Regions from separate parts of the Homo sapiens genome. Here region 1 is linked to region 2. The links are contacts of gene promoters, found by promoter capture Hi-C in blood cells and fetal thymus (Javierre and others, 2016). All regions are on one chromosome and are shown on one strand. Each heading gives the region's core, a stretch centred on a gene start or on the middle of the fragment in contact. The rest is flanking DNA. Distances are from core to core; before and after follow the strand shown.

The links. The method cuts DNA at HindIII sites, captures the fragments that hold promoters and counts their contacts. A CHiCAGO score of 5 or more calls a contact.
Region 1: a contact is called between a fragment that was not itself captured here and the fragment with the promoter of OPALIN in region 2, in 1 of 17 cell types (neutrophils). The highest score is 5.7, in neutrophils.

What each region holds. Positions count from the first base shown.
Region 1 is chr10:97,069,984-97,076,524 of GRCh38, reverse strand. The region is part of intron 4 of SLIT1 (slit guidance ligand 1); the gene reads left to right. Among named protein-coding and RNA genes, the nearest start is that of SLIT1-AS1, 30 kb to the left of the region's middle. RefSeq lists a silencer at 3,399-3,693 and an enhancer at 5,531-6,541. The HindIII fragment of the contact is 3,743 bases long and covers 1-3,505 here.
Region 2 is chr10:96,354,933-96,361,117 of GRCh38, reverse strand. It overlaps OPALIN (oligodendrocytic myelin paranodal and inner loop protein), which reads left to right and starts at 2,116. Exons shown (of 6, transcript NM_033207.5): 1 at 2,116-2,224; 2 at 5,828-5,863. The coding sequence starts at 2,222. The HindIII fragment of the contact is 2,651 bases long and covers 1,239-3,889 here.

The DNA.
Region 1 (6,541 bases), core at 385-2,884, 720 kb before region 2:
GGGAGGGGTACTTGCAGAATTAATTCCCCTTCTACGTGGGAGGCATAGGATCTAAAGGGAGGTGTGAAGAACCGGCAGAGACAAAGGCGGGATGGTCCAGCGAGATCCCAGGAGCATCTCTGAGCAGCATGTGCATCCCAGCGTCCCACCCATGGGTATTGATAGCCTCCCTCCTGCCAAGCCATCCTGCAGCAGGGCCCTGGAGCACAGACAGTCCTTAGGAGTCTGTCTCCCATTCCCTGGCCTGAGCAGGGAGCCAGGGCTGGGACTCCTGACCTCCTGGCAATGCTGGAGATGCCAAGTCTTCCTCTGCTGTGAGTGCTGGAGCTGATTCACCAGGGAGCCCCACACCTGCTCCTCACCCGTGCCCTCAGGCATCTTCCATGCAAATTGGCAGAAATGCAGGAAGGGCCTGTGGGACAAATGTAGTGGCTGGTCCCTGCCCCCCACCAGCCCTGTGGGTGCCTTTTCTGTTCCTCAGGAAGGCGGGCCTTGGTGAGCTGCAGCTGAGGGGTTGGTAGCTGCTCTTCCCTCTCTCCACTCACTAGGGGTGTCTGTGTCTAAGTCTCCCCACCTCAGCCCCCAAAGAATAGGAGTTGGCACCTCCAACCCTTGCTTTGAAATGCTAACCAGTACAGAGGTTATAATCTGGTTTGCTTTGGCTCCAGCTGGGGACATTAAAACATTTTACACCTTTCCTCTGCTGGAGGCAGCACTTCTCAGACTTCAGTGTGCACCTGAGACACTGAGGGATCCTGACTCAGGAGGTGGGACCCAGAAAATCTGCTTTTCTATCAAACTTCCCGGGGATGACGATGCTGCCAATCCACCAGGTGCCAGGGACTCACTTGCTGAGTTATCTGCAGTGGAATCCCGGGCAGCCACTTATTGATAACAGTCGTGTGAGGCTGCCCCGTGCTGGCACCAGCTACCAGTGGGCACGCTGAGTGTGTGACACACACAGCATGTAATCCCATCCTCCCAGCATCCCTGGGAGGTCAGTATTGTTGCAGATGTTGGGAACTAACTGTGGTCCTGCCAGAGGTCATGGAGTGGGTTGGCGGCCTTGAGCCTCAGCCTCCTGACTCCCAGGCCCTGACCCTCCCTCCTCCTCCCTACAGAGCCCAAAAGGCAATTATTAAAGTGTGGGCAATGGCAGCCAACTCTGCCAGTCCTGGCTGAGGCCCCACACTCAGCTGTGGTTAAGCCATATGATAATTATTCCCATTTTACCATGAGAAGACTGAGGCTTGGGGGTTAGAAGATGTGCATGAGGCCAGAGCCTGAGTCCTTAATCCAACCATCTTCTGACAAGGATCTAAGCCCCCAGATGAGGTGCCCTGGTACCCTTGGGGTGCCCTGGTTCAAGGTAACCACTCGGGCTGCAGGGGGCCGAGGGGACAGGCCAGGCTGCCCAGAGCTTCCATGTGGCATGAAAGGCAGACAAAGTAAGGCCTGTGCCCTGCAGTGGCGCCCGAGTGGGCAGCAAGAACCCAGAGCCCAGTCCAGCCTTGGCAGGTGCCCAGCAGCCCTCTGTGTACTCCCACCCCTGCCCCCACTGCTAATCCCCTTAGAGGCTGGTCTGCCAGCAGGGACCAATCAGGTTAGAGCGTGAAGGCAGATTAGCAGCCAGAACATGGGGTCTTGACCTCAGCTTCCCCAACCCCTGCCTCCTCCAGCCCTGGGAGAGGATGGGGGGATTGGCAGAGTGTGCAGAAGGAGGGGCAGCCAGAGCAGGGTGCCTGGGGATGGTGCCAAGTCAGGGTGTGGGCCTGGCGGCCCCCTTGTCTTCAGGGGCGGGCGGCCGACTGGGGTTGCCCGATGCTTCCAGGCCAAGTGGGGGCTGCTCTTGGTGGAGCTTGCCTCCTGGGGTGCTTGATCTTGGCAATGGGGTTCATGCTTTGTCTGCAGGGCCCTTGCCTTGAGCTGGTGTGAACTTGGAACCACTTGAGGGTGTTGGTTGTTAATATCCTGAAGGATGTGTGAAGGGAAGAGGTGCGATTGTTACATCATCCACAATAACAAGTGCTTGCTCGTGCCTGCCTTCCCCTTCTGAGCCTGCATCTCACTGGGTCTGCAGCCTGGTTAGGCAGAGCAGGTACAAGTGGCCGCAGCATAGGTGGGGAGCTGTGGTCTCTCGCCATGCACAGCCAGCCTGTCTGGCCCTGAGCTCCTGCCTCTCCCTTGGCCAGTCCTAACTACTTGTTTTGGCCGGGAAAACGGAGAGGGATTAGAGCAGAGGACTCATGTAAGGATCCATTTTAGTTCATTCAGCTAAAAATTACTAAGTCTCTGCAATGTGCCAGGATATAAGGGAAAGTGAAGGAGAGTGTCTGCTGGGAGGTTATGGTCTGGAGAGGGAGATGGACGTTCACCAGAGTCAGTACTTCATCACATTCGGTGCACCTGTATTTTATTACAAGCCTGGGTTGTGCCGAAAAGTAAAAGTGGGGGTGCTAGGAGCCTGTTGCAGATAGAGCAGCTGACTCAGGCTCAGGGGAGGTGTTTGTAGACTGAGGTGTGAAGGATAAATAGCGTTTCCTGGGTGAAGGTGAGGGAAGAGTATCCCAGGCAGAAGCCACAGCAAGTACACAGGTCCTGTGGATGTCAGGAGGGGTCTGGGAAACTGGAGGAATGTCAGCAGAGGTGAGGGAGTAGGCAGCGGCACCTCTCCCATCAGATCCTGCAACATAAGTGCCGCTTTCCATCCCCATGTTGCAGATGAGAAAACTGGGGCCAGAGAGGTTACATGACTTGCCCGAGACCACACGATTTAAGTGAGTGGAGCCAAGTCTCCCCTGTGACACCCAGCTGTGGGCTTTGTCCTCAGCACCCTGGCCTCTCCGTGAGTGCTCCCTGGACCAGCATCCCCGCATCCCCCAGGTGCTTGTCAGAAGTCTGGGACCTTGTCCCGCCCTTCAGCTTCTGCCCCAGCCCTGTATCTCCCCAGCGCTGTCCTGGGTCTGACTCTGGGGATCTGTCATGGTGCCCTCGTCACTGTCCTGCCCCTGCCCTCCTTCTGAACCCCTGTCTGGCTCCGCTTCCCCGGGCTGGGACAGGCCCTGGCTGCCCTGGGCTTGGCTGTTTGTCCTTCCAGTCGCAGATCCCGCCCGCTTCCAGGACGGCAGTTCTCAGGGTGTCTCATTCTGCCCAGACACATCCTGGCCATCTCCTCACTTCAGGGCGTTTGACAAGGCCGCGTGGGAGGAGGACGGGCAGCAATGACTGGGTCTGAGGAAGATGAAGGTGGCCCAGAGCTCCCGGAAAACTGATGGGGAAAGGCTTAGGTGGTGCTTTTGGGGGGTTTCCACACAGACCAGGGGCAGAAGACATGATAAACTTTATTTCAAAGGGATTTGGGAAAGATGAGACAAGTATTGGCAAGGTAGGAAGTCAGTTGGAGCAAAAAGAAAAAAAAAGAGAATAGCTTTGTTCTGCTAGTTTGCGATGTGGTTGAGGCATCCAGGTCCAGGGAAGGCTTCTGGCGCCCCCTCGTGGGAAAGCTTGAAACAACAGAGCCTTAGGGTTGCTTAGGCTGTGCTTCGGGCAGGGACAACAGCCCGCATTTCTTGAATGCTGCTAAATGGAGGTTGTGATTCAGAAGCTTAAGTACATCAATTCACAATCTTCTCCAAAGTCCCACGTGGTAGTTATTTTACAAATAGGACACCTGAAGCTCTCAGGTGCAGAACTTCTCGAGGTCCATGGTTGGTCAATAGCAGAAGCAGGAGTTGAACCTGGTCCTTCTCTCTACAGGTGCAGGCTCCTTCTACCACCCGCTTTGCTGCCATCAGGCTGCATTTTCCTGAGGCTTCCAAGGTTCACCTGTTTTCCTCTGGCCTCTCCTGGGGCCCCAAATTCACTTTCCTGTCTTCATTTAAACGATGAGGGCTGGTTCCGGCTGTGGGCTGACTGGCCAGGGTGGGACAGTTCCACACCCAGCTTTGGGCCATCTCTTATCTCTTGATGGCCGTTGGCATCACCTGCTGCCTGCCTGCCTGGGGGCTGTGTCTTTCCTCTTTAAGCTTTGGTGCCCCAGAACAAAGCCTGAAAGATGGTCAGAGCTGGGCACAGTGCCCGTGCCTTTAGTCCCAGCTACTTGGGAGGCTGAGGAGGGAGGATCACTTGAACCCAGGAGTTTGAGACCAGCCTGGACAACATAGTGAGACCCTGTCTCTACAAAAATATTTTTTAAAAAATTAGCCAGGCATGGTAGCATGCGCCTGTAGTCCCAGCTACTCAGGAAGCTGAGAGAGGAAAATCACCTGAGCCCAGGATTTCAACAGTGCAGTGAGCTGTGATTGAGTGACTGCACTCCAGCCTGAGTGACAGAGTGAGATGCTGTCTCTAAATAAATAAACAAAATAATTAAAAAGATGGTCATATCACAGCCCTCTCTGTTCTATCCCATCACTCTCCCCGGCCTGTGTGAGGCTTCTCCCAGCTGACACTTGCTTCCCAGAGCCTCTGCTCCTCCCCAGTCATACCAGGCTCTCTCATGCCCCAGCGTCTTTGCATAGACTGGGCCTACCTGGAGTCTGCCTCTGCCTTCTTCCTCTTCCCTACTTAGTTCCTGGTGTGAGTCCTTATAGAAATGCATTTGCTGAATTGTACTTTGATGCTATTATAAGAAACAGACACTCAAACCCCATTAATTATAAGGATCTAGTGTTATTGATTAGGCTACACTGTCATTTTTAATAAACACCCCTGGGAAAATTCTTGCCTCATCTGAGTGCCACACCAGCTGTACTCCTGAGAAGCTGATCCTTTTAGACTTATACGTGTCCCGTGGGCGCTGTGAGCTGACTGGCTCTCCTTTCACGCTGGCTTTCAGTGAGAAAGCTCAGAGCCCCGCTCAGCCCAGCCTGGCATGTGGTCACATGGTGCATGCATTCTTAGTACCCGCCATTGATTCCTCCTCTTCTCTGTGCCTCATTTTTCACTCTTGCTCTCTTGCTGTTTTGAAAATCCCTATAAGCCACCTTAAAGGCTTTCTAGAACAAGGTTGGGTCTAAATCGATAAGCAAATCAATACGAATAAAAAAACCTTCCTTGCAGGGTTGTGGTGAGGATTAAATGGAATAATGAATGGATGTGAGTGCCGGCCCAGCGTTCCTTCCCAGGCTTGGCCAAAGGGTGAGTGGTCGGCTGGGCTGAGATGAGGGTCCCACTGGAGGTCCCGCCTTCCTGACTCTGTGGACGTCCTCAGGCCACCACTCCTTCCTGCCTCCATCTGGCTCTTAATGCACATGCTCTCATCTCCCTGAGTCCCTGTGGGTCAGCAAAGGTGGCAGGCTGTGTCTGTCTTCTCCCCAGACCCCGTCTTTCAGTAGGTGTATGGCCAGCAACTTTCCTCACCTCCTTTCTGGGACCCCAAATCCTCTAAAGAAGCAACCACCTCACTTGATGTGTGTCTTAGTCTGTTCCAGCTGCTATAACAAAATATTGTATTGGGAGGCTGAGGTGGGTGAATCACTTGAGGCCAGGAGTTTGAGACCAGCCTGAGCAACAAAATGAGACCCTGTCTCCACCCGTAGAGCATCTGTAGTCCCAGCGCATCTGTAGTCCCAGCTACTCAGAAGGCTGAGGTGGGGAGGATCGCTTGAGCCCAGGAGTTCAAGGTGACAGTGTGCTATGATTGTGCCACTGCAGTCTGGCCTGGGTGACAGCAAGACCTTGTCTCTAAAAAAACAAAAACAAAATGCCGTAGACCAAGTGGCTTATAAACAGCAGAAATTTATTTCTCACAGTTCTAGAGGTGGGAAGTCCAAGATCAAGGTATTGGCAGATTTGGCGTGTGGTGAAGGCTGCTTCCGGCTTCATAGACAGTGCCTTCTAGCTGTGTCCTCACACGGAGGAAGGGGCAAGGCAGCTCTCTGCGGTCTCTTTCATAAGGGCACTAATCCTATTATAAGGATGGAGCTCACATGACCTATCACCTCCCAAAGTCCTCACCTCCTAATACCATCACATTGGAGATTAGGTTTCAACCTATGCCTTTTTTGAGAGGAAACGATAATTCAGACCATAGCAATGTGTCTTGCAGGCATGTGGTTGGGTCTGCACTGGTGAAGAGCTTAGAAATCTTCTGCTCCAGCCTATGAATTGGACAAATGAGGAAACTGAGGCCCCCAAAAAGAAGTGATGTAGCCAAGTCTCTAACATGATTTCAGCCCATTAACCTGGAGCCTAAGCATGCCCCTCCCTTCCTTAGGGTCATGCCTCAAAGCAACGCTGGATGAGTCATCAATTGTGCGTAACCAATGACTTCAAAACACTGCGGCTTTCAAGAACAAACAATAAACATCTCACAGTCTCTGTAGGTGGCTGGGTGGTTCTGGCTTGGGGTTTTTCATGAGATTGCATCACAATGTTGGGGGGTTGTGTCATCTGAAGGCTTGGCTGGGGCTGGAGAATGCACTTCCTTGATGGCTGGCTCACAGGCTGGCAAGCCTGTGCCTGCTGTTGGCGAGAGGCCTCGGTTCCTCTCCATGTGGGCCTCCCCAGAGAGCTGCTTGAGTGTCCTTATGACCTGGGT
Region 2 (6,185 bases), core at 867-3,366:
GGAGTCTTGGAAACTGGAAGCCCACAAGGCAGAGGCCTCATTGGTCTTGTTTAGGATAGCATCAGTGTCGGCCATGTTGCAGGTGGCTGATTACCACAGTCTAAGAACTGATTAGAACAGCAGCTGTCACCCCTGACTGCTCGTTAGCGTCCCCTGGGGATGCCCCTGCCTCACTCTGATCAATCAAGTCAGAGTCTCTGGGGGCAGGTTCTAGGCATCAAGAGTTTTTATAACCAGCCCCCTACCACTCCCTAGGTAATTCAGGTATGCAACCAGGATGGAAAAACCACCTGATTAAAGGCAATCTGGTCTCCACTGTGCCACTAAACTGCTCTTGTCAAGGCCACCAGCAACCCCGATACTGGGAATCAGAAGGCTCTTCTGACCTCTTCGGAGGCTACCTCTCAGCAGCAGTTGATACAATTAACCAACATCTACTCCCCTTCTTGAATCAAATTTCTTTCCTGTGACCCCCGAACTTATCTGATTTTCCTGCCTCACTCAACTCTCCTTGCTAGTGACACCCCCTCTTCCAGGCTGCTAAATGTCTGTGAACCCCTGGCAGCTGTCCTGGCCCTCTGCCCTGTCTACCTGCTCATGCACACCGGGGGCTTTAAAACCATCCACAGGCCGGCCACTCCCAAACGGATGTCTTCAGCCCCAGATCCCCTTTATCCAGTCGCCTACTTGGCACCCACACTTGGACAGCCCCTAGGCTACTCAGGTGTAAGGGCAATCTGTTTCTCCAGTATTACCTGCCTAAGCTAATAGCATCTCCATTTTTGTTAGTCAAGCCTCAAACCCAGGAGTTGGCTTTATTCTTCTCTTTCCCTCACCTCGCCCTTCCCCGCCCCATATTTTTTTCATCATTTAATCCCAGTGGCTCCACCTCCACAGTAGAGAGCACAATCATTCACTGCTGTCTTCCTACAGCAGCCACCTTCATCGCTCACCTGGACTCCACTAGCCAGCCACCTGCTTCCACTCTCTTCCCCTGTAATCTTGGCTCCACAGAGAAGCCCTAGCAATCCTCGTCACCAGCAATTACATCATGCATCTCTCCCACTGAAAAACCCTTGGAAAAGGTTTCATCTAAGGATGAAAATCTTACCATGCCCTCCCATGTCACATCAAAAGGGCTCAAACTCACTCCGTCCTTAGCCCCTTCCCGGGTGACTCCCTGGTTTATGTTGTTCCAGCCAACCGGCCTCCTGCCTGCTCTGGGAGTGCACCAAGCTTACAGGGCTTAGCATTTGCTGTGGCTTCTGCCTGGGACTCTCCTCCCTCAACCCTTCACATGTCTGCCCTCTTCTCATCTTTCACGCACAGCTTCAGTGCCATCTCCCAGAGTCATCTAAACAACGGCCTCCTCTGTCACTTGAGTCGCTCTCTCCTTACACTCCTATCTGCTCCTCTCACAGTGGTTTTCATTTCAATGGCCAAATTATTGGTTTAATTCTGTTGTTTTATTAGCAACTCATTCACCATTTTAAAGAGGCAAATCCCTAACAGGGAAATTGTAAGTTATAAAGCAGCCCAAGTCCATGGCTTCCTCCAGGTCTAGAGAGCTTCCCACCCAAAATACAAAAACAGAGAGGGGGTGAGGCTGAACTCACACCAGGCAGCTCATTGGCCACTGAGTGCAGCACCTTGCAGCAGCTGGAGCCCCCAGCAGTGTGACTCCTGCAACAGAATGGGCCCCCACCCCTCCTCCAGACATCCCGAATGTCCATGCTGTTGTCCATGTAACACAATGACTCCATCATTATCAGTAACATGGTTAATGTGGACTCCCGTCAGCTGGGGATGGAGTGGCCAGCCTCAGCCTCATGTAACCCATTGTTTCCAAAGGGCTGCAGGCTGCAGAAGCCCCCAAGCTCTCAGGCCAGCTGTGGCTTCTTTGCTGAGATGGAGGTATAGCCAAGAAAGCAGCCTGAAAAGTAAGGACAGAAAATCAAGGCAAAGAGGGTGGGTGAACCAGGCCATACACGTCGGCCATGCAGCAGCAGCCCATCTTTCCCGAGGGATGGACTGAGGGCTTGGCTACTCCCCTGACCATAAATGGCTTGGCCAGGGTTCTCTTGGAGCCACCTCTCAGCCTGCCTCTGCAGCTTTGTCAGTTAACTGTTCCTACAAATGAAAGACACAAGCCAATAAAGCCAGTGAGAAAGGAGCTTACCAAAGGCAGTGTACGAAGAAGGTTCCTGGGAGACTGTCAGAAATGGTGAGTGAAAGCTGGCATCTCTTCTCAATCGAACTTTCATTTCTTACTATAAAAAACCTCCAAATTCAATTAAATGTACAATGAAGTAAAGGGACTTTATTTTAAATTATTTTCCTATATGCAAAATACCAATAATTTTTTAAACTTCTCACCTAATATTTGCTGATCTTGTCTTTCATTTTGGTATTAAGGTTTGTTTTTAAAACCCCACATACAAGAGTACAGAGTAGATGTTTCACCTATGTTCCCTTTCTAGTTGAAGCAATGGATCTAATCAACGATTTTATCTGTCTTACTTGTTTAATCTGGCTTTTTGTTCCATCATCAGCAACATGGATGGTCATCATTGATCAGAAATTTTCCATCTTTCTTGTTTACTTGTGATAAATATTTTGTTGTGACTCAATCAAATGAAGTTTGCTAAGTTAGAAGAGAAAACAAGAGGGTTCTGTGATTTACTAAAGAATTATGGAAACAGCCTAGGTGTCCATCAGTGGATGAATGGATAAAGGGACTGTGGTTTATATGTATATATACAACTGAATATTAGCTTTAGAATAGGAGGAGACCCTGCCATTTGCCATGTTTGTCCTATTTGGACCTGGAGAACATTATGCTAAGTGAAATAAGCCAGACACAAAAAGAAGAATATTGTGTAATCTCACTTTCTTGTGGAATTTTTTTTTTTTTTTTTTTTTTTTTTTTTTACAAAAAGCATTGTTAAAAGGAGTAGAGCTCAGTCTGTGGAGTTAGGGAGATCTGTGATCTAACCTGATCTCTACCACTTAAAAGCTGGTGAGCAAAAACCTATCTTGGTCTCAGTTTCCACAGGTATAATATAGGAATAATAGTGCTCCCTTCATGGGGAGGTTGTGAGTATGGGGTCTTATACCCAGCACACCTTCAACAGCAGTAAGTTTTTATCCTGTCTCTTCCTCCTTCCTCTCACAAACTGCAAACTTATAATGAAGGACGTTCAGCCACTGAGATCCCAAAATGCCTTCAGAATCATTGTGTAGATACTGCATAGTGCTCAGACTAGCAGTAAGCAATAATTGCATTGTATCCAATTCTAGTACTTTGACTATCACTAACTCATGCTTGCAATTCCATTCCACAAGAACTTTCCTATCCTTAGCTCTGTGCTGGCCAGGCCATAAAGAATATGCTACCACGTGATCCCTAAAACACAGAGGGTGTTTTACAGTTTGGGAGAAAGGAGCTGCCACAGATGACATTACGGTATTCCCTTGTGAAGTGGGCAAGGCAAGTTAATAGTATCCCATTTTGAGAATGGGAAAACTGAGCCTTGGAGAATAGATTTGTTGTGAGAAAATGGAGACCAGAGGGTTTGAGTGACTTATCCAAGACTACACAGCTCCTAAGTGGCTAAGTGTGGGCTCGAATTTAGATCAGGTGGCTCCAAGCTCAGGGTTGCATCATCCCACTCAGCTGTGTCTCTGAAGGGCACTGCATCAGATTCTTCTCCACCCTAATTTGTGCGATGTTTTTCTCTCCATGAGAGCACTGTACTGTGTTTCTACAAAATATGAGTGTCTTTCTGAAATTGGCCAAAATCTCCGTCATCCGAATGTTGATAAACAACACATGCAATGGCCCACTTGTTGCTGCACCCCCTCTTCTACTGTCCTCCCAAAGGAAGCTTTGTCTTAGGGCTGCTGACATCAGTCCTCAGTGCCCACTGATGAGATAAAGCTCTGGGCAGCTGCATTCAGTGCAGCGACCATCCAGTGTCCTTGCAGCACGTGTTGGTCTGGTGCTAGCGTGAAGAGCAGTGGTTAGGTCCCTTGAGCAAGAGGACCCTGACCTAAGAGGCCCAGACGTCCCTGTGTTCCACCGTCATCCCAGAAGCAGAGGTGCACAGTGCTGTCAGCCTGGGTGCTCTGATTCATCCACAGAGACTACTGGAGTTGCTTGGAAGCCTTGCAGAGTGGTGGAAAGAGGTTGTCACCGGGACACTCAGGTTCTGGTGACAGCTAAGTAGTTGTTTGGACTTGGGAAACCTGTTCAAATTCTTGAGGCTTGGTTATTCTCTATAAAATGCGGGTGTCCTATTGCCAAGAGGGGGAGAAGTGAGCAGAGGCACCACTGAAGCGTGCTAGTTGAGCAGGGCCACGTTGATTGAAGGACATAATATTTGGGGCAAAAGCTAGGGGGACTTACACATTCTAGGTGCTTAAAACACTTCTGGTTCACAAAAGATTTTCTTGTTCATTAACCCATCTGAATTCCAATCCATCAGTAAGTCAGCTGAAATAGGTGTTTTGTCAGTTTGCTTCTGTTGGGATGAGATCCTCTGTTACCATCTTTCGGGTTGGGGTTGAGTCACATAGACTGCGGCCCATTGGCTGGTCTATGTGGCTCCAACTGTTCTCATTTGTCCATGAGGTGATTTCTGATAAGTCCCTGGGTTTCAGTTTCCTCTGCTGGAAAATGAGGGTTTTGAGAGAGATGATCTTTCAGGTAATTCAGGTGTGAAACATGATTCTTTTGGATTCTTTAATGTTTCACAACTTTCCTATTGTTGGATAACATTTAATTTTAAAACTTAATGAATGCATTGTTTCTACAATGACAGAATCTGGTCTTGGGATGCTGGAAAGACGGGAAGCTGTGGTGTAGACCAAGCCCAGGGAAATATCTGGGGGTCAGGGAGACCGAGGCTGAAGGAGGGCCCAGCCAGGAGGTATTAATCCAGGGTGGCTGGACCCAAGGGGCTGAGAGTCCAGAAAGTGGGAACAAGACCACTTCCACCCAGGGAAAGAGGGGAAAATAGTTTCACTGGCTGAGTCAGAACAGGTCCACCCATCATTCCAATCTAGGTAGGGAAAGGACTTGGTAAGGAGCAGCCTGGAAAGGCTAGAGTAACAGGGGCTAGGGACAGGGAGGAGAAAGGAGCCACCTGAGGCCCTGGGCAGGCTACTTGGTGCTCCACTGAGCCCACGATCTTTAAATTTGGACTCCATATTTGCGGGAGAGGTGAGACCATCTACTAAGTGAGGGGAGGAAAGAGAAGGGTTTGCTGTTCCCCTGTCCTCCTGGCCACTTCAGCTCCAGCAACCTAGAACCTCTGCCTCAGTTGTAGCAAAAACAGAAGCCTTGCCTTCCCCGGGTAAGGATCAGGTGTTCTTGTTAGACCATGCCCTTTGGGGGTCTTACCTTCTACTCCAAGGAGAAAACACAAAATACTTCTAAATTCAACAGTTTTCTGTCTCAAAGGAGTTCTAGAGGGAATAAACATAATTTTAGCCTTTTGCTGAATTTCTAGTCATGTGTTTGCTGCCCTTGTGAATGGGACCCCTCAGACAATAGCCTTGCAGGCTGCCTCTTCATCTGATCCTGGTCGAGGACCTGGTTGGGGGCGGTGGCAAGACTGACTTGATGCTGAGGGAGGAACTCATGACAGGCTCCTTGCCTCCCCTTCCTTCTTTTGGGGCCAAGACTGTGCAGGACGATGGGGGCTGGCTGAGTCTATAGGATCAATGACCTCTCGGAATCCACCAGGGTCAGTGAGTTTGAGGAAGTGAGGAAGGAGCTTGCTGACCATCCCTGGGAGCTTTAATGTTTACTTCTATCTTGCAGAGTTTTTCACTGAACTTCACCCTGCCGGCGAACACAGTAAGTACAGCAGCCCCCATTCACCAGGCAACGCAGAGAAGACCAGTGCAGAATTTACAGTAGGTCTCCAGAACTCACATAAACCCCTCACACACGGTGATAAGTTACACAGACTTTCTTTTTTTTTTTTTTTTTTTTTTTTTTTTTTTTTTTTTTTTGAGACAAGGTCTTGCTCTGTCACCCAGGCTGGAGTGCAGTGGCATGATCTCGACTCACTGCAACTTCCACCTCCTGGGTTCAAGCGATTCTCCTGCCTCAGCCTCCTGAGTAGCTGGGATTACAGGTGTGCACCACCATATCCGGCTAATTTTTGCACTTTTTA